Regions from separate parts of the Homo sapiens genome. Here region 2 is linked to region 1. Evidence: promoter capture Hi-C in 16 types of primary human blood cells and fetal thymus (Javierre and others, 2016). All regions are on one chromosome and are shown on one strand. Each heading gives the region's core, a stretch centred on a gene start or on the middle of the fragment in contact. The rest is flanking DNA. Distances are from core to core; before and after follow the strand shown. Region 1 holds the start of IFIH1 (interferon induced with helicase C domain 1). Region 2 holds the start of ACVR1C (activin A receptor type 1C).

The links. The method cuts DNA at HindIII sites, captures the fragments that hold promoters and counts their contacts. A CHiCAGO score of 5 or more calls a contact.
Region 2: a contact is called between the fragment with the promoter of ACVR1C here and the fragment with the promoter of IFIH1 in region 1, in 1 of 17 cell types (non-activated CD4 T cells). The highest score is 6.0, in non-activated CD4 T cells.

The regions. Positions count from the first base shown.
Region 1 is chr2:162,316,013-162,321,747 of GRCh38, reverse strand. IFIH1 (interferon induced with helicase C domain 1) reads left to right here and starts at 3,064. Exons shown (of 16, transcript NM_022168.4): 1 at 3,064-3,893. The coding sequence starts at 3,441. It also overlaps a transcript of GCA not described here. RefSeq lists enhancers at 1,832-3,031, 2,600-3,149 and a silencer at 3,180-3,269. The HindIII fragment of the contact is 6,386 bases long and covers 1-3,826 here.
Region 2 is chr2:157,624,579-157,630,234 of GRCh38, reverse strand. ACVR1C (activin A receptor type 1C) reads left to right here and starts at 1,371. Exons shown (of 9, transcript NM_145259.3): 1 at 1,371-1,663. The coding sequence starts at 1,591. RefSeq lists a silencer at 1,427-1,656. The HindIII fragment of the contact is 11,498 bases long and covers 851-5,656 here.

The sequences.
Region 1 (5,735 bases), core at 1,815-4,314:
TGTTACAGTCTATCCTTAGAACAAACTTCTGACATGATACCAGAATCTTTCCATTTTACAACTGATGTATTTGAGGTGATTTTTCAAAGCACAGCAATTAAGAAATAGTATTGAGATGTGAACTCAGACAGCCTGAACTCAGAGTCTCTGTGCTTAACCATACCCCACACTGCCAGGTTAAGAGCATCTAACACTTTAAATTACACAAAGCAGGCTCATTATTGATACAAATGAGCAAACAAGTAAAGGAACAGAACAACAATTCCAGGGTTTCTCACTAAACTAAAATTATTGTCATTTTCTTTGAAAAAGACATTATTGCTATGCATGGTCGTTAAATTGTAGTGGCAGCTCATATTGTTACTACTTCTTAAAAACTCAAATGAAAAGTTGCATAACAATGGGAAAATACATAGTTCAGCAGGATCTCCTGCCTCAAAAGAGAAAGGAAAAAGAAACTTACATTTGGGAACTGGTGAAAAGGATTAAAATGAAACCTAGTAGAAGAAACTTGACAGAGGAAAACAATTAATTACTCAAGTGAAAAACAGAAAATAAACTAAATCATGATGCAAAAAATATAGATGAAAAAAGGATACATTGTGAGAGATTGTGTCTTGGCTTTTGTTTCCTTAACCTCCTTTCTCCAAAAAGGGTCCCATCAAGACTATGGGAGATTCCTAAAAAAGAAGTCCCTTCCACCCACACCTAATCCTCATCACTCAGACCTCATCCAGCAGAGAGACTCCTACTTGTGAGAAAATATGAATTGTTATTGTTGGGTATTATGTGATGCTAATAGGGTTAGAGGAGGATGACTATTTGGGAAATCAACCTGTGAAACTGTAATATACATTATTATGTAGATTTACTATGGTCTTCAGGGCATTTATCCTCACCTGCACATTGCATATTTTTTAGTCATTACTTACCATCTATCTTCCCACTCCCATTAGAATGTGAACTCCATAAAAGTAGGAGCTTTGTTAATTTTATTAACTGCACCTAGATCAGTGCTGGTCATGTAATAGATACTTAATAAACATATTTTAAATGACTAGATGATACAATGAATGATATAATTTGAATGCCAAATATTTAAATATCTTTGGTTTAAATGTTTATTATTTGAGAACAGGTCAAATACCAAACATTTGATCCTTTCTCTTCCAGAGCAACAATTAAGTGGTATGAAGAAAATAACATTAACTGGTTCCCCATATTCAGTCAGCAACCCCTTCTCATTCCCCCATGTTTGAAACCAAGAAACAGAAGGATAAGTGCCAGGAAAAAGAATGTTTTTTGGTTTGTTAGTTTGTGCTTTAACATGTTGAATAAAACCCACTGGCAGCTGGGGGATAGGAGTATGTTTTTGCAACAGCCTTAAAAGATATTTTCATAGACCCAATACTTAAAATTAATAATTTGAGTGCTTTTGTAGAAACATCTAATTGGATTATCCTCTATCTGGGTACAAGGTCATCTCCCAAAATTAAGTGAAAAAGGAGTAGGGTTCTGTGAAGAAACAGAAAAGAACAGTATAAATCAGGCCTACCTGCAAGCCCAAGGTTTCATTTACTTCAACTTTCAGTGTATTTAACATTATGCCAGCTGCTATGGTCAACTCAAATACAACTCCCAGGAGAGATGTCATCAAGAGCCCACCAGTTGTGAGTAGTGTACTAGTTACTATGTAAATATATCCCTTCTTCAAGCAGCTTACAATCCTTCAGGGGTAGAAAAAGCCTTGCTACATAAGATAATTAGAGAATAAAATAAGACATGTTACCATAAAGTGCTCATTTGGATATTTTGTATGCCCCTAGTAAACACTCACCAAGACTCTGTACTTCTATTATCCTGTTCAAAGCACTATCAGGTTTTCCTGGCCTACACAGACTTTATTGAATGTACTTTGCTAACAGATTATTTTTCCTAAATATGTCTCTTTGATAACCTAAATGATCTCTCCATCCTTTATATAATTCTGGACCATGAGATTCTAGTTATGGTGCGTATGTGCCTACCACCCACAGTCACATGTGGCTACAGAATGCCTTCAGAATGAGTAGTAACCTTAAGGACTCACATTTATGTGGCTTCTGTACCAAAATGAAGCTGCCATTTTTCAGTGTGAATATGTTTTTTTTCTCTCATGACATAGACAAATGTTGATGTTTACTACAAGTTGGTACATTAGTTGCTAATTAAGTTCCTAGCTGCTCCAGCCAAAACTTGCTGTATTGAATCCAAGAAAAGAATGGCAGCTATATCAAAAATAAGTTGTTGGGGGATTTTTTTGTTTTGTTTTATTAAAGGAAAGTTGTATATTAAAGAATATAGGGAACTTACAAGCTGGGATCTAGGAAACTTTAAGTCTTGGCTTCCTTCTAAGCTGAGTTGGTGGTTCAAGTCCATCCACATCTGTTACCAGGTCCTGGTCAAAGCTGCATAAATACCAGCAATCTAAATATGAGGCAGTAAAGTTAACTGTTTATTGTTACTCACTTTTTCGAACCCACCTCCAAATTCCCAGGGAAACAAGTTAGTGTTTGGGAACCCACAGGAGGTCAGGTTTATTTTAGGAAGGACTTCCTCCTGTCTTCTCCACATCTCTGCAAAGATGTCTTCTGAGCTTCATCTCTCACCTGTCCCTCGCAGTCTCACCACCCTCAGCCAGGCCTGCCTACATTCACCAGCCGAGGGTAACTCCCTGTTCACGTCCGGGTCTGTGGCAGTTTCTGTTCACTTCCCCTTTGGAAAGTCCCAAATCACATGCTTTTATGCCCTGCACATTTTGGCCTACAAAGGACCTTATTGTTAAGGCAGAACCTGCTGGGAAAACAAAATATCCGCCGGAGGAGCTTTGCTAGAGCGTTGGTCTTGGTGTCAGAGAGAATTCGCTTTCCTTTTCTGTTTCCCGCGGTGTCCTTAACCAAAGGCCTCCTCTCTTCACCCGCCCCGACCAAAAGGTGGCGTCTCCCTGAGGAAACTCCCTCCCCGCCAGGCAGATTACGTTTACAAAGTCCTGAGAAGAGAATCGAAACAGAAACCAAAGTCAGGCAAACTCTGTAAGAACTGCCTGACAGAAAGCTGGACTCAAAGCTCCTACCCGAGTGTGCAGCAGGATCGCCCCGGTCCGGGACCCCAGGCGCACACCGCAGAGTCCAAAGTGCCGCGCCTGCCGGCCGCACCTGCCTGCCGCGGCCCCGCGCGCCGCCCCGCTGCCCACCTGCCCGCCTGCCCACCTGCCCAGGTGCGAGTGCAGCCCCGCGCGCCGGCCTGAGAGCCCTGTGGACAACCTCGTCATTGTCAGGCACAGAGCGGTAGACCCTGCTTCTCTAAGTGGGCAGCGGACAGCGGCACGCACATTTCACCTGTCCCGCAGACAACAGCACCATCTGCTTGGGAGAACCCTCTCCCTTCTCTGAGAAAGAAAGATGTCGAATGGGTATTCCACAGACGAGAATTTCCGCTATCTCATCTCGTGCTTCAGGGCCAGGGTGAAAATGTACATCCAGGTGGAGCCTGTGCTGGACTACCTGACCTTTCTGCCTGCAGAGGTGAAGGAGCAGATTCAGAGGACAGTCGCCACCTCCGGGAACATGCAGGCAGTTGAACTGCTGCTGAGCACCTTGGAGAAGGGAGTCTGGCACCTTGGTTGGACTCGGGAATTCGTGGAGGCCCTCCGGAGAACCGGCAGCCCTCTGGCCGCCCGCTACATGAACCCTGAGCTCACGGACTTGCCCTCTCCATCGTTTGAGAACGCTCATGATGAATATCTCCAACTGCTGAACCTCCTTCAGCCCACTCTGGTGGACAAGCTTCTAGTTAGAGACGTCTTGGATAAGTGCATGGAGGAGGAACTGTTGACAATTGAAGACAGAAACCGGGTAGGTGTCTGTTCAGATGGAGCTAGCCTTTTAGGCAGATTTTGCAAAGCAGGCTTCCTTGTGCGTTTGCCCCTTTCCAAATGTGCTTGACCTCTTTGGGCAAATCTAGTTTCTTCCTTTGAGAAGACAACATCTAGGCACTTTAAGACAATTTTAAAAATTTAAACACAAAAGAACTACTTTTCTAATGTTTTCACTGAAGTAAAAAGGAGTTAACTCTAGAATCGTAATGTGTATTAACAGGTAACTTTTATTGAACACTTACTATGTGCAGTTGGTATCATTTTCAAAATGTATTACTACAGTTCATGTTCAGAGTAACCCACTGAGGCTCCTAATGTTATTAACTCCATTTTACAGATGAGAAACCTGAGGCAGGTTAAATAATTTGTCCAAGGTCTCCCAGGAAAAACAGTGGCAGAGCTAAGAATTTAGCTTGTGATAGTGTTGAATGTTTTTCTTATTTAATGTAGTTCCATGGAGCAGGGGTTAGTAAACTACGGCCCATGGGCTAAATCAAGCCTGCTACTGTTTTTTTCAGGCCCACAGGCTAAGAATGGTCTTCAGATTTTTCAATTTTTAATTTTCAGTGTTCATAAAGTTTTATTGGAACACAGTCATGCTCGTTTGTTTACATATTGCTTGTGGCTGCTTTTCTACTCCAAAGGCAATTGGATGGAGACTGTGTGCCCTTAAAGCCAAAAATATTTATTATCTGGCATTTTAGAGAAAAAGTTTTCCAATCTTTGCCCTACATTACACTTTGTGCCATTTAGTCTTAGCCCAAATGGGTAAATTGCAATCACACACACACACACACACACACACACACACACACCCTTTTTCTTTAATCAAAGTTTCAACATTCTTTGAGAATCAAAATTTAGAAACAATTCATTGAAAGAATGTGTTGCTAGTTTCAGTTTTTCATGTTAGTGAAGAAACTCATTTTTCTTAAGGTAGCATTTTGACAGGGCGAATTTTACTGATGACTTTACATTGAATGTGATATGAATTATTTTTTGATAAGTGAAGATGTACTGTGATGTGTATAAATGCTGACCTGTTTGAATGTGACTTATTCAGGCTCGTAAGTCAAAAGTCTTGTTTTGGAAGACATGTAGACAAATAAAGCCATGACTAAAAGTCAAAGGCTTTGTCTACACCACTCTATGATTTTCACATGGTTTTTTTCTCTCTCTCTCTTTTGGGTCATCCATTGTTTGTATATTCATACAAACTTCTGGGCATTTGATTGATTTGCTATAGCCTATGATGCAATTTAGTCTTTAGTGAATAAAGTTAGTGATCTTTTGTAGACTTGACAGACACAGGGCCTGTCCAAAGACCCAAACATGCATCTAATTTTGATGGCCAGTTTTCCCAACAAGTAAATTACTTTGCACTGTTGTCTGTAATGTTTATGTCGTTTTGTGTATTGAGAACCAGCTAGAACGCATTATAGTAGTCCAGCTGGATATGACAAATGTGTACATCACTGTGGCAGAATCTTAATTTGGAAGAAAGTATGCAGCCTTCAAGCCAGCTGGAGATGGAAGATGGCATTTCCAGCCACAGTAGCTGTTAGAAGTCCAGAAGCAACAGAGTCCAGTAACACCACAAAGCTGTTTATGTTTGGTGGGTATGATGTCCCGATTGCCAGCGAAACAGCACTTCTCCCTATTTACTCTAAATACTTCTGCCTATCAGCATCACTTTTGTCTTGCCTGGATTGAATTTCCGCCAGCTAGATTTTATCCAAGTTCTTGATTCTGGCAAGCTTGGAGGCAGCTAGCAGTAATGCAAGGGATTTGACACAAAGAAGATATAGAGTAACGGGAC
Region 2 (5,656 bases), core at 122-2,621, 4.7 Mb after region 1:
CTGAAAGGGCTCAGATTTGTCCCACATCTCCAGTTTTTTGTTTGTTTGGATCCAGGATAAAACAAGAACAAAGTTTTTTTGTGCTTAGGAATATAAGATGGTGGCAGAAAAGATCCTCAGGATGCCACCCACATCTCAAAGTCCAACAACCATCTCATCTCCCATACTGTGATCCTTTGATAATAAAGTCAATTACATACAACATTTCACCATAGGTCTTTCATAGAACTTAGAACACCTAGCATATAATTTAGTCCTGAGCTAGGTGAAGAAGCAAGAAATGTTTTACTCTAAAGCAATTTTTATGACGCTATCACTTTTCAAGGAACCCCCAACAGTAGTAATAACACCAGTATTGTATTCTTGCTTTTTCGCGTTGTTCAGATTGAAATAATCCCATTCACTTTAATGTTCAGGCTCCATAGGTGAATTGAATTTAATTTCTATAAATTGGTAATGTTGCCGTTGTCCTTATATTTTCAGGCACAATCCAGGCCTTATATTTTCAGGCACCCGTTTGACAGTTAGCCTCTAGGGATTAAACAATACTCAAACAAGTTTTTCATATACTACTTTAAACAATTCTTCCCCTTCCCTTAATCCGTGTGTGTGTGTGTGTGTGTGTGTGTGTGTGTGTGTGTGTGTGTATGTTCCCTTAGTTCTTCAATTGCTGAAGTTGTAGCTGCCGAAATTATCTTCCATAGGTGAGGTCTTTTACCACCAGACGTGGGTCACACATTGTAGATGGCCACATCACCTGGCGCAGGTGGTCCAGCTTTGGTCGCCATTCATAGAGGGAAGGGTTCCCAAAAGGCACCCAAGAAGAGATGAAGTTTGTTAAACCAAAGCTTATAGGTCCAGAAGGCAGTCGGACAACTGGTCATTTCCAGGGATGAACAGAGAGGGCGCCCTTCCCCAGAGGCACAAATGGCCAGGACGCAGGGGTGGGACAAGCCAGTAGGAAGCCCGCGGGGCTCTCACAGCGCAACCTGGTTGGACTTAAGGACCCTGGACAACAAACGTCAGGAGAGCTAGGAGGCTGGCTCTTCTGCGGGAGGTTATAGAGCGGATCACCTGGGCGCAATCGCCGCGTAGTTGAAGTTTCCCTAAAGTCTCAGTGGGGCTTTTCCTCCCGTGAGAAGCCCCATTCCTGAGTATCTAGTCCCGGAGGCTCCGCACTGCTTCCCCACGCCCCCTCTTTCTTCGCCCCAGCTCTGGGCGATCTCACTGCCGGGCACAGGGCCGCCTTTGCCTGCCTGCCCTGCAGCAGCAGGCCCGGGCGGCTGCGAGAGGGCGCAGGGGGCGGAGGCGCGGCAGGGGCGGGCTCTGCCGCCCGCCCCACCACCCGCTCCCCGCCCGGCTGCGGGGCCAGTGGCAGGAGCGCCGCGCACCGCCAGCCGCAGGGGGCGTGGGATGGGGGCGGCCGGGGAGGGGGGCGCCCACACTGACTAGAGCCAACCGCGCACTTCAAAAGGGTGTCGGTGCCGCGCTCCCCTCCCGCGGCCCGGGAACTTCAAAGCGGGCCGTGCTGCCCCGGCTGCCTCGCTCTGCTCTGGGGCCTCGCAGCCCCGGCGCGGCCGCCTGGTGGCGATGACCCGGGCGCTCTGCTCAGCGCTCCGCCAGGCTCTCCTGCTGCTCGCAGCGGCCGCCGAGCTCTCGCCAGGTACGGTGCTGGTTTCTCTCCCGACGCCCGCGAGGGTGGGAGCTGGGAGGAGGTCTGCGGGTGAGCACGGGGGTGGGGGACAGGGGGTGCTCCGAGCAAACTGACCTTCGGGGCGGACAGGGAAGCGCCAGTCGGATTGAGGGGGCGCGGGATAGGGTGCAGCGTGGGCACCTGACGTCTGGCAGCCGTAGGGGTAGACAGGTGTGTTGGGGACGAAGCCGCCCGGAAGAGGGAAAAGGCAGCAGGGACGTGGGGGAATAAGTAGTAGGGGTGAGGTGGGTGACTAATTTGTGGGCAGTTTGCAGCGGAGAAAATAGGAGAGCGTTTGTGGGTGCGCGCATGGCTGGGAGCTGGGTTCACCCTGCAGGGACCTGGAGGGCTGCAGGTATGCGTCGGACGCGCTCTGTGCTAAGCCCCTGAGAGCTGCTCAAGGATGGTGGCATGGTGGTGGTGGGAGGTGGTGATTTAGTCTGAGTTTTAGGAGGCGGGGAATACCCCAAAAGCCGCAGATGCCAAGCTATGGAGGCGAGAGTGGGAGCTTAAATCTGTGTGGTTTGCAACGCACATTGCTTTCGAGGTACGATCTTTACTCAGAGTTCCTGGGGAAAAAAATTCTGGCAAGCGCCCCAGAGTTTATAACAGGTCTGTGCCTTGATAGGCTAAATAGAGCCCTCTACCCAATCTAGAAGCCAGACGTTTCTTTATAATGTTTACTAGAAAGTGGGGCAAATGCATCTTTGGTAAAATCATAATATGCTGTGACTAAAAGCCCTTTACCTCGAAAACTATTTTCATTACATTGTCCTGGATTATGCAGAGGAGGAGCAGATTCTTTGCTAACTCATTCTTTAAAAATTTCTATCAGACATTGAAGACATTTGCACATAAAAATCTGGTGTTTTCCCATAGAGCTGTGTTTTGTCCGAAGCTGATTTTGATGCATTTTGTTTTCCCAGATGACAATCTGTTTGACATTAATAGCTATATTCATGGTGGGTCGTTTTCCTCTTAGTGACATGTGCAAGAGAATGATTTGAATGATATGATTGCTGTCATGTACAGATTTCAGTGTTTCAGATGGCCTGAGAGAATCACTAAATACAATATTCAAATATAAATTTGATTATTGAAAAGGATTAATTGACAAAATCTGAGGATTAAAACATTCCAGTTATCTTTTAGGAAAACAGCCCAAGACTGTCGGAAAGATGATGGGATAAAGTGAAATATTTGCATTTAGAGTTAATAAATTTATAAGTGGGAGAAAACCAACTATGGGAAAGTCTTTAAAAAATGGGTGAAAACTCTGCTAACTTGGGATACTGAAAGTGCTCTTGACAATTTAATAGAGTTTACAAAAAAAAGTCTTCAAGGTATCACAGTTTTGATGGGGTGAAACTGCCTCTGGAGGCTGTCTGTACAACTCTTTTTATTTGGAGGAGCTGATAACTTGGCTGCACACATTTCTACAAAACAGATTCAATTTTTTTAAAATGTAGCTTCAAGGGTATATTTTGTTGTATACCCAGAATCTTTAGAAAATTTCAGAGACCTTGAGCATAGCAACATGCCTCATGTTCTTGAAAAGGCATGGAAACTTTTGACATTGAAATATGCAAAAAATAAAAAAAAGATAATCCATTCAAAGTCGCTCACTTAAAATTTGAAGTCTAAGAAAAATGCATGATATGGAATAATATAGTAGAGATGTATTTATTGAAGCTGAACTTTTATGAAAAACTTTTCTATGTCAAGTGCAATCATTTTCAAATCTCCTTAAGAAGTTTTTACCCCTCTGTGTCCCACGTTAACAATGTATATTGCTACTTATAGTATTTATTCTTAACTTTATATAAAACTCTGGCTATTTAGTAGAAAGATTCAAGGTAGTTTTGTTTTGCTTTTCACTTTTTCAATTGGTTTTATGACATGGTTAGCCAACTGTATTTTTACCTGGTCACTTTTACAAATTATACTGTTAATCATATTGGCCATTTATGACATGTACTTGCTGTTGTTGGAATGTTATATGAGAAGTTGTTCTTGATGTAATGACATAGTCAGTGAAACTGTGTGACAGAAGGCACCACCTTTCATCTGGATCTGCAGAGCAGGCCTACGACTTTAAATATCTGAACACATGATAAACCAGTAAACCTTTTTTACTTTGGCTGCTCATTCCCCACATTGTTGTCACCTTAGGGGTGTCCATTGCTCCTTTTTGAGAATCTCAGAAGATAACAGCTGGTAGAGACTTAGAAAAACTGTTTATTGGTCTGGACTGGAATTAAAAAAATCAGGCTGGCTGGGTGCAGTGGCTCACGCCTCTAATCCCAGTACTTTGGGAGGCCGAGGTGTGAGGATTGCTTGAGGCCAGCAAGTTCAAGACCAGCTCAGGCAACATAGTGAGACACCATCTCTACAAAAAATTTAAAAACAATTAGCCAGTTCTGGTGGCACACACCTGTAGTCCTAGCTACTTGGGAGGCTGAGACAGAATTGCTTGAGACCAGGAGTTCAAGATTGCAGTGAGCCATGATCACACCACTGCACTCCAGCCTGGGTGACACAGTGAGGCACCGTCTCTAAAAACAAGAGCAACGAAAAACTCAGGCTCCTCTGAGTTGCTCTGGTTATGTAGGTTCTGGATGCCTTGATGTTTGATAAGAGAGACCTGACATGGCTTCACAATATTCACCATGTGTACCCAAAAAAGAAGTGGCAGAAAATGTCCTGGAGTTCTCTACTTTGAAGCTGTGATTTGGATGTTACATAGATTTACATATTGTGCATTCTCTTCTAATTTCTTGAAACTCCTTTGTCCTCTGGTCCAGAAAGGATTATTAAGAGTCCAGAAAGCCCTATGTTGTTACTCCAAAAATGGAATAAATATTTCCTTAATAACCAGGGTGAGAGTGGGGGTTTCAAGTAATGAAATTCTTCCCCCCACCCCCCTGCACCCCTCTGCACCCCCTCACCCCCACTGCAAACAATAGTTAGCAGTTTCCACTAAGAGTTTTCCACAGTGTTGCTGGAAGTGAAAGTGAAAGCTCAGGGCTGACTGAGTTTATAAATGCAAAAGATGTTGCCATCTTTGCCCTTCTTTAAGCATAGTCATTTATTGGTTGATTGACACAGATGTGGCAAGAGGCTCCCTGGTTCCAAGGAAGACATCTCTGGCCCAGGAGAAACTATGCTTAGAGATTTCCTCTGAATTGCTAAACTCATACAAAAAATAAAGGACTTTGAGGTGTGAAAGTGAGTAGCTAAGGATGATGCTACATTTTTGACCCAAGCAATGGAAGAATGGACCCTTAATTGGGGTGGGGCAGACTGCAGGAAAAGCTGGTCTGGGGAGAGAAGGGTTGGTGCTGACAGATCACAGGAGCTCAGTTTTGAATATGTTGAGTTCAAAATGCCTCTCAGATGCTGAAATGGAGATGTTAAGTAAGCAATTGGTTTTCTGGGTCTGAAGTTCAGGGGATAAATATGGACTGATGATAAAAAATTGAGAGCCAAGGGCATTTACTGATAACTTTTCAAAGACGCATTAAATAGAGCCACAGACTTAGCAAATAAGGCAGAGAATACCTTGTTAGATTGAATTTGAGATAAACAATGAATACCTCTTTAGTATAAGTGTGTCACAAGTATGACATGGAACACAAGTATATTAAAAATTAATTGCTGTTTAATTCCAATTTAACTGGGTGTTCTGTACTTTTATCTTGCAAACCAACATAAAAGAAGTCCTGTTGTGAGATAAACCATTCCTGATGCATGTATTTCTGGCTCTTTTATTAAAAAGAGAAGTGAAGACCTATTTTCTAGTCCTCAGCTCTAAAACCCTCGCCTGTTCTAGCTCCGTTACTGTCTTCATGTGCATCTCCCAATGTGTCACTCCCAACTCTTTGCACAGGATATCTCTCTTCTGTGTGAACCTGAAAGGATACCTAGTTTTCTCCAATCCTACATGAGTATCTAGACATGAAA